Linked DNA regions of Homo sapiens: region 1 is linked to region 2. The links are contacts of gene promoters, found by promoter capture Hi-C in human tissues and cell types (Jung and others, 2019). All regions are on one chromosome and are shown on one strand. Each heading gives the region's core, a stretch centred on a gene start or on the middle of the fragment in contact. The rest is flanking DNA. Distances are from core to core; before and after follow the strand shown. Region 1 has its middle 17 kb from the start of CABP2. Region 2 holds the start of ALDH3B2 (aldehyde dehydrogenase 3 family member B2).

Region 1 (4,036 bases), core at 1,161-3,660, 130 kb before region 2:
CTCTCAGTGTTCTCCTTACTTATACCAAGTAATAAAACCCTTGTTCATCTAAACCTGTTTTTTTTTTTTTTTTTTTTTTGAGACGGAGTCTGCTCTGTTGCCCAGGCTGGAGTGCAGTGGTGCAATCTCGGCTCACTGCAAGCTCCACCTCCTGGGTTCACACCATTCTCTTGCCTCAGCCTCCCGAGTAGCTGGGACTACAGGAGCCTGCCACTACGCCCGGCTAATTTTTTTGTATTTTTAGGCAGCAAAGACCACTGGTGGACACAGTGAATGACGGGGCGGAGGACCATCGTGGGCAGGCGCTGCAGCTGCCTTATCCACCAGGGCTCTGAGTGAGCCTGGGTGCCGGCTGGTGCTCTGGGACAATGTGGTCAGGGACAGGAGGTCACCCTGGTCAGTCTCACCACACACCTCCAACTGGAATCAGTCCTGTTCACAGGAGGTGGGCAAAGCCCAGTGTGTTCAGGAGCTGCCAGGCACCTGGAGCCTTTTGAGACCCTCTGACCCAGAACCAGGGATGACAGGCCTTCATTGTGGGCAACAAGGTGAGCGCTGGCTCCAGCCTCTCCCAGATCATTGTAGGTCCATTTCTTAGAAGGGCAAACTGAGGCCCAGGGTGGGCCAGTTCACTGCAGCAGAGACAGCCAGGGTTCTGGCTCCTGAAGCTGCTCTCTCCTGACCCAGCTCAAGCTCCCTCACACTCCCTGCCCTGCAGGTCTCCTTCACCGACCACAACCTGCTGGACTTGCTGCTGGCCCACCAGGTCCTGGTGAGGCAGGAGAATAGGGTGTGGAGGCAGGGAACCTAAGGCTGTTTCATGCCAACTTCCTAGAACTAAATTGAAAGGAAAACCCTAACTTTCCACACCTAAGTAACAAAAGGACCAGAGGCTACTCCATTTGACCTTTTCTGCACAGCAGATGCGAAATTGGCTGTCCCCAACAAATCAGACTAGTTGTGGGTGGAGTCTTCGTTTGCAACTTGGTAATTTCACTCCAGCCTATGAATGGTTGCTGTCCACAAACAATCAGACTGATTGTGGGTGGAGTCTTCGTTTGCATAGAAGCATAACTTTGTAACTTCACCCTAGCAAACATCTGATCCAATCAGATGTTGGCACAGGAGTGTGACCTTTGTAAGTTCACTTCAGCCTCTGATTGGCTGTTTTCCGCAACCAATCAGATTGCAGGCTACCACTTCATTTACATGAGGTGAGCATGAAGTGACCAATGGGAAACTTCTAGGGGGTATTTGGACCCAAGAAGATTCTGTATCCAGGCCCTTGAGCTGCTGCTGGGCCCACTCCCACACTGTGGAGTGTACTTTCGTTTTCGATAAATCCCTGCTTTTAGGCCGGGTGTGGTGGCTCACACCTGTAATCCCAGCACTCTGGGAGGCCGAGGTGGGTGGATCACCTGAGGTCAGGAGTTCAAGACCAGCCTGGCCAACATGGTGAAACCCTGTCTCTACTGAAAATACAAAAAAAAAAAAAAAAAAAAAAAATTAGCTGAGTGTGGTGGCACACGCCTATGATCCCAGCTACTTGGGAGGCTGAAGCACAAGAATCACTTGAACTTGGGAGGCAGAGGTTGCAGTTAGCAGAGATCACACCACTGCACTCCAGCCTGGGTGACAGAGCAAGACTCCGTCTCAAAAAAAACAAAAAACAAAAAACTGCTTTCATTCTTTTGTTGCTTCATTCTTTCTTTGCTTTGCTGGGTGTTTTGTCCAATTCTTGGTTCAAAACACCATGAACCTGGACAACTTGCAGTCACAACCCTCTACCAGGGACACTGGTGCCCGGCTATCTGGGTGCCCTCCTCCTGCTCTCAGCCTACGTGGCACGCCTCAGCGCCCAGCCTAAGCTCGAGGCCTCCCTGGCTTCCCCTGAGTATGGGAACGACCCCATCTTTGGAGGCTACAAGATGTGAGCCCACTTGGCCTCCCCATGGGAGCAGGGTTGCCCTTGGGAATCAATAAAAGCAATGAGAGGAAAGCTGTGCTGAGGTCATTGAGGGGCTGGGTGGGCATAAGGGACCTTCTACCCCATCCCAGGCTGCTGGGAATGACCCAGGCATAGGCAGGACCAGAGGCTACAGATGACCCTCCCAGGGGTTGAGTGGACAGGGGCGCTGGTGACCTTGGCAGAGGCCTTGTCTGCTGGATGAAGGAGTGGGAGTTGACTCCCAGGGCACTAGGGAGCCACTGCAGGCTTTTGAACAGGGATGGTGACTTTTAGGAATCAGAGCCTGTGATAGCTCAGGAAGCCTTGGGCACCACCTAACTCAACACCTAATAGACAGGGAAACTGAGGCCCAGAGAGAGGACTGGACTGCCTAGGTTCACTAAGCAAGTGGGTAGATGGGTCGAGTTGGTGTCCTGGGTGCTAAGCTCCCAGGTTGGAGGCCTGGCTGCCCCTCAAAGGAGCGTTTGCCTGACTGAGATGCTTAGCAGAGGCTCCATGGGGAGGGGTCTTATGCACCTTGGGTTTGAGGGGCTGACTGGCAGTTCTGTTTCTGGTGAAGGAGAGCTGACCCCTTTTGGGAGGCATGGTCCAGGAACGACCCCCCCAGTCCCCAAGAGGAAAGTGCTGCACACCCATCATCTCAGTGAAATCCCGAAGCTTCCACAGCCCAGAAGACAGACTGTTGCCTGAGGGGGGAGCTGTTCCAGTGGGTCTTGTAACCCTGCCCCAAGGAGCCTGCCAGGCAGGGCCCAGGGCCTGCAGCCTGTGGCCTGTGAGCCTCCTCAGTGCCCCGAGCATTCAGGAGGGCGTGTTCAGGTTCCAGCCTCGCCTGGGCCAGGCCTTGGAGTATGCTTGGGATGCCCTGGTGCCTGAGGGCAGGCAGCCTTACCAGTGGCTTGGCATGGGAAGGGCTGGACTCCTTGGACCACAGTGGTTCACTGTGTAGGCAGGGAAGACAGTGGCCGTGGTAGGCCACAGAGCAGGCCTAGGGGACATTCGAGCATCCCGCAGGTTCCAGAGCAGCAGGAGGAGAGGAGTTGCTCTTTTCAAAGCTTCCCGCAGGAGTTGGATGCACCGGCTCACACTTGCAGTCCCAGCTACTCAGAGGCTGAGGTGGGAGGATTGCTTGAGCCCAGGAGTTAAAGACTGCAGTGAACTATGATTGCACCGCTAAACTCCAGCCTGGGCAAAAGAGCGAGACCCCATCTCTAAAAACATTTTTTATTTTATTTTTTGAGACAGTCTTACTCTATCACCCAGGCTGGAGTGCAGTGGCATGATCTCAGCTCACTGCAACCTCCACCTCCTGGATTCAAGTGATCCTCATGCCTCAGCCTCCCAAGTAGCTGGGATTACAGGCGCACGCCACCACACCTGGCTAATTTTTGCATTTTTAGAAGAGACGGGGTTTGGCCATGGTGGCCAGGCTGACCTCGAACTCCTGACCTCAAGTGATCCACCCGCCTTGGCCTCCCAAAATGCTGGAATTACAGGTGTGAGCCACTGTGACTGTATAAAAATATTTTTAAAAGAAAGCTTCCTTCAGACAATCACTTTCACACTCTTCAGGGTGACTGGGCTGGACATTTTGGCTGTGTAGCTCTGAGACTGCAAGAAGGTGGATGGAGAGGCTCCCTGTGGCCAGGAAAAGGGACTGGGCCCCTGTCTGGGTACCTCAGGACTGGCATGAAGCCACATGTGTGAGCTGGTGCTGCAAGGCGTGGGAGTGATCAGATGGTCATTGGTGAGAGGCTGGGAGCCCCTCTAGCTGTAAAGTTGACAGATGACACCCAGGGCATGTGGTCGGGACTCCCTAGCAGCATATGGGAGGGAGGAGGGTAAGCTTCCTCCAGGCAGTGCCCCAAGCACTTGACATCTATCAACTCATTTAATTGGCAGAAAAAATCCACCCCGTGGATGCTATTATTATCTCCATTTTATTTTTTTAATTTTATATTTTTTGAGACGGAGTCTTGCTCTGTCACCCAGGCTGGAGTGCAGTGGCGTGATCTTGGCTCACTGCAACCTCCTCCTGAATTCAAGCGATTCTCCTGCCTAGGCCTCCAG
Region 2 (3,986 bases), core at 26-2,525:
GGAGCTCACAGTCTACACACGGAACAATGACACCGGAAACAATATCATTACAAACATGATCGGTGGGCCAGGGCTTCTTCCAGAGGTGGCCAGAGACCCACCCCTGGCTCTGACTGCTGCGGGGAAGCCGTAGGGGAGGGCCTCTTGGAGGGCAGGTGATCTGGACAGAGGGACCAACGTGTGCAAAAGCCCTGTGGGGGCAGATGCTGAGAAATAAGACACACAGGAAGGTGGAGGCCTGATGGGACCTGTCATATGGAGAGGGGACTCATTCCCTTGGCAGTGGCCATGCCTGGTGCAGGGCCCAGAAAGAAGTCAGAGCTGGCATCTGGGGCCAGGTAGCTGGCATGCACATCTCATCTGAGCCTCACAGCTATTATTATTACCCAGTTGGAAGGACAGGGAAACCGAGGCTCCCAGAGACGACTTGATTTGCCCTCCTCACAGCCTCAGTGCGAGGAGGGAGGCCCCCCAGCCCCTCTCCTCACACCAGCCTTGTGACACCATGTGCCAATGTGTGCCTCGTGCCTTTCACTGTCTTCTCAACATCTTCCTGCAGCTTCCAGACTTTCTAAATGCGAATGTAGTATTTCTAGAACCAGAAACAAGCAATGCATGTTGCTTTTAACATCTGAAACCAAAGATCCGACTTTCGCTTCAACTGCCAAGAATCTCTCTGCTTCCAATCCCCGATTCTCCGGCACCTCCTGATCACAGCCCTGGTGCCCCCGACCCAATCCTTGTCTGTCCACAGAGCTGCCTTCTCCTCTAACCTGGGAGCTCCTCAAAGGGAGGACGGGGTCTGTCCCCATCCCTGGGGCTCCTGGGGAACAGGCTTCATTTCTGTGGCTGCTTCCCAGGAGCCTGCCAAAGGGCAAAGTGAGGCTCAGAAGACACCAGCACCCACCTCCCTCTCCTGAGCAAGCCCCGTACCCATGGCCCCTGCAGCCATAGGCCCCTTGGTGGGCTTGCCCCCTGACCCACGGGCCATGGGCACACATCCCCTTCCCTCCATGCCCCTGGTTCCCACCAGTGTCCTTTACCCTGAGCTCCCTCTGCCCGCCCCTCACCCCTGTGGCCCCACATAACCCAGCGTGGGCTCTGCCCCTGGGTCCTTCGCTGCACCTCCACTCCCTTTCTTGGACATGCTGCCTCCAGATGCGCAGGCTCTGCTCCTACCCCCAGGCCTCAGCCCTGCTCTGCTGACTGCGATCCTCCCAGGAGACTGGCAGCTCCCAAACCAACTCCCGTGCCCACGCCTGGCAATGGGGTAATCAATGGGGTGATGCTCAGTGTTACCCAACAGGCGTGGGGCAGGGCTGCACCTCCCAATTCCCATGCCTACCCTTGTCTCACTGCCAGGACCTATAGCTGCTCGGTGTCTGCCCTGTTCTTCCAGGGCCCTGCCCCCAGGGACCACACTGCACAGCCGGCTTGGGAACAGGTTAGACAAGTCAAGGCTGTCTGAGGCTTTGCTCTGTGTTTCCTGGAATGGGCTAGCAGGGAGTTACCTGATCAGGAAAAAAGAACCCCAGGGGAAGGTCACAGGATGAAAATATCAGCAGGATCCTGGTGGCAAATGCTGCCTTCGCCAGGAAGTCCTCCCAGGCCCCAGCCACAGTGGTCCCATGCCCCCCATGGCCCCTCCTAGGGTCTCTATGCTAAATCTTCATCTCCCTCCTCTCCTGTCCTCACTCTTCAGGCTTCACAGGTCAAGATGAGCAACTGTGGCTCTATTTCCACTCTCAGTGTGCCCAGCTGGCATACTCAGGGCAGAGGAAGGGGCTCAGATCTTTGCAGAGAGACCCTTGATGGGCGACGGCACCTGTAGCTCTAGGATGGCGCATTGTTCATTGGTTTATTTATTTACTGTGCAACCGTGGGTAGGTTACTTAACGTCTCTGAGCCTTTCGGAAGTAACAATAACACCTAATTGCCATGGTTCTTGAGAGGGTCACAGAGGGAGACGTGAGAATGGAAAAGGCAGATCACAGCTCCTGGCACAAAATCAGTGCCCCTCAATGTTGCCCGCTAATGTTTCCACAAGTATTTGCTGAGCACCTTCTAGGTTCCAGGGAGCAGAATGAGCTCAGGTCCTGCCACTGTCCTTCATGGATGGCCTGACTCTGTCCCCACCCCACCTTCCCCCAAGCCTGAGACCAAGGACACGCCCTGCTGAGGGCTGTAGAGAGTCTCTTGGCAGAGTGTGCAGCCCTGTGGGCAGGAGGGACATCTGAGATAACCCTTGGTTGTGACTGGAGACAGCCCAGCGGAGGCCACAGCCTGAGACCAAGCCCTGGCCCTGGAATCTTCGGTAGCTAAAGATGTAAATGCCAATGTGACACCAGGAAGGGACCTCGGGATGGGGAAGGGAATACAGGGCAGAATGCTAAGGCCCATCTAAGAGCAGCAGATGGGTTATGGCCACTGGGGAGGCCCACTGCCTCCAAACCACTGAATTGTACACTGTAAATGGGTGAGTTGTATGGGATGTGAATGCTATCTCAATAAGCTGTTTTGTTTTGTTTTGTTAAACTGAACTGACAAGAAGCCTGAATAGACGTAAATAAATTAAAATATGCTCAACCTCAGTAGCAATTGTTAAAATGTAAAATAGGTCGGGTGCGGTGGCTCATGCCTGTAATCCCAGCACTTTGGGAGGCCGAAGCTGGTGGATCACTTGAGGTTAGGAGTTCCAGAACAGCCTGGCCAACATGGTGAAACCCTGTCTCTACTAAAAATACAAAAAATTAGCCAGGCGTGGTGGCATGTGCCTGTAATCCCAGCTACTCGGGAGGCTGAGGCAGGAGAATTGCTGGAACCTAGGAAGCAGAGGTTGCAGTGAGCTGAGAGCACACCATTGCACTCCAGCCTGGGCAACAAGAGAAAAATGAAATTATATCAGGCATGTTCTTAGACCACGGTGGAATAAAACTGGAAATCAACTCCAAAAAGAACCTTCAAAACCATGCAAATAACTGGAAATTAAATAACCTGCTCTTGAATGAGCATTGGGTCAAAAACAAAATCAAGATGGAAATTAAAAAATTCTTCAAACTGAATGACAACAGTGACACAACCTATCAAAACCTCTGGGATACAGCTAAGGCTGTGCTAAGAGGAAAGTTCATAGCCCTAAATGCCTACATCAAAAAGTCTGAAAGAGCACAGACAATCTAAGATCACACCTCAAGGAACAGAGGAACGAGAACAATCCAAACCCAAACCAAGCAGAAGAAAGGAAATAACCAAGATTAGAGCAGAACTAAATGAAATTGAAACAGAAAAAATATACAAAAGGTAAATGAAACAAAAACTTGTTCTTTGAAAAGATAAATAAAATTGATAGATCATTTGCAAGATTAACCAAGAAAAGAAGAGAGAAAATCCTAATAAACTCACTGAGAAATGAAACAGGAGATATTACAACTGACACCACTGAAATATAAAAGAGCATTCAAGGCTATGGTGAACACCTTTACACACATAAACTAGAAAACCTAGAAGCAATGGTTACATTCCTGGAAAAATACAACCCCCCTAGTTTAAATCAGGAAGAATTAGATACCCTGAACAGGCCAATAACAAGCAGCGGGATGGAAGTGGTAATTTTAAAATTACCAACAAAAAAAAAGTCCAGGACCAGAAGGATTCACAGCAGAATTTTACCAGACAGTCAAAGAAGAATTGGTACCAATCCTTTTGACACTATTCCACAAGATAGAGAAAGAAGGAGCCCTCCCTAATTCATTCTATGAAGCCAGCATCATCCTAATACCAAAACCGGGAAAGGACACAACCAAAAAAGGAAATGACAGACTGATATCCTTGATGAACATAGATGCTAAAATCCTTAACAATATACTAGCTAACCGAATTCAACACCATATCAAAAAGATAATCCTCCATGATCAAGTGGGTTTCATACCAGAGATGCAGGGGTGGTTTAACGTAGGAGGGTCAATAAATGTGATGCATCACATAAC

What was found. Contacts are between HindIII fragments. The study calls those that stand out against the background at their distance.
Region 1: a fragment that was not itself captured here is called in contact with the fragment with the promoter of ALDH3B2 in region 2 in 3 of the 25 tissues and cell types used here (lymphoblastoid cells, pancreas and spleen).

The regions. Positions count from the first base shown.
Region 1 is chr11:67,538,657-67,542,692 of GRCh38, forward strand. No RefSeq gene overlaps it. Among named protein-coding and RNA genes, the nearest start is that of CABP2, 17 kb to the left of the region's middle. The HindIII fragment of the contact is 3,306 bases long and covers 758-4,036 here.
Region 2 is chr11:67,673,348-67,677,333 of GRCh38, forward strand. It overlaps ALDH3B2 (aldehyde dehydrogenase 3 family member B2), which reads right to left and starts at 1,276. Exons shown (of 10, transcript NM_001393402.2): 1 at 1,089-1,276. The HindIII fragment of the contact is 24,145 bases long and covers 1-3,986 here.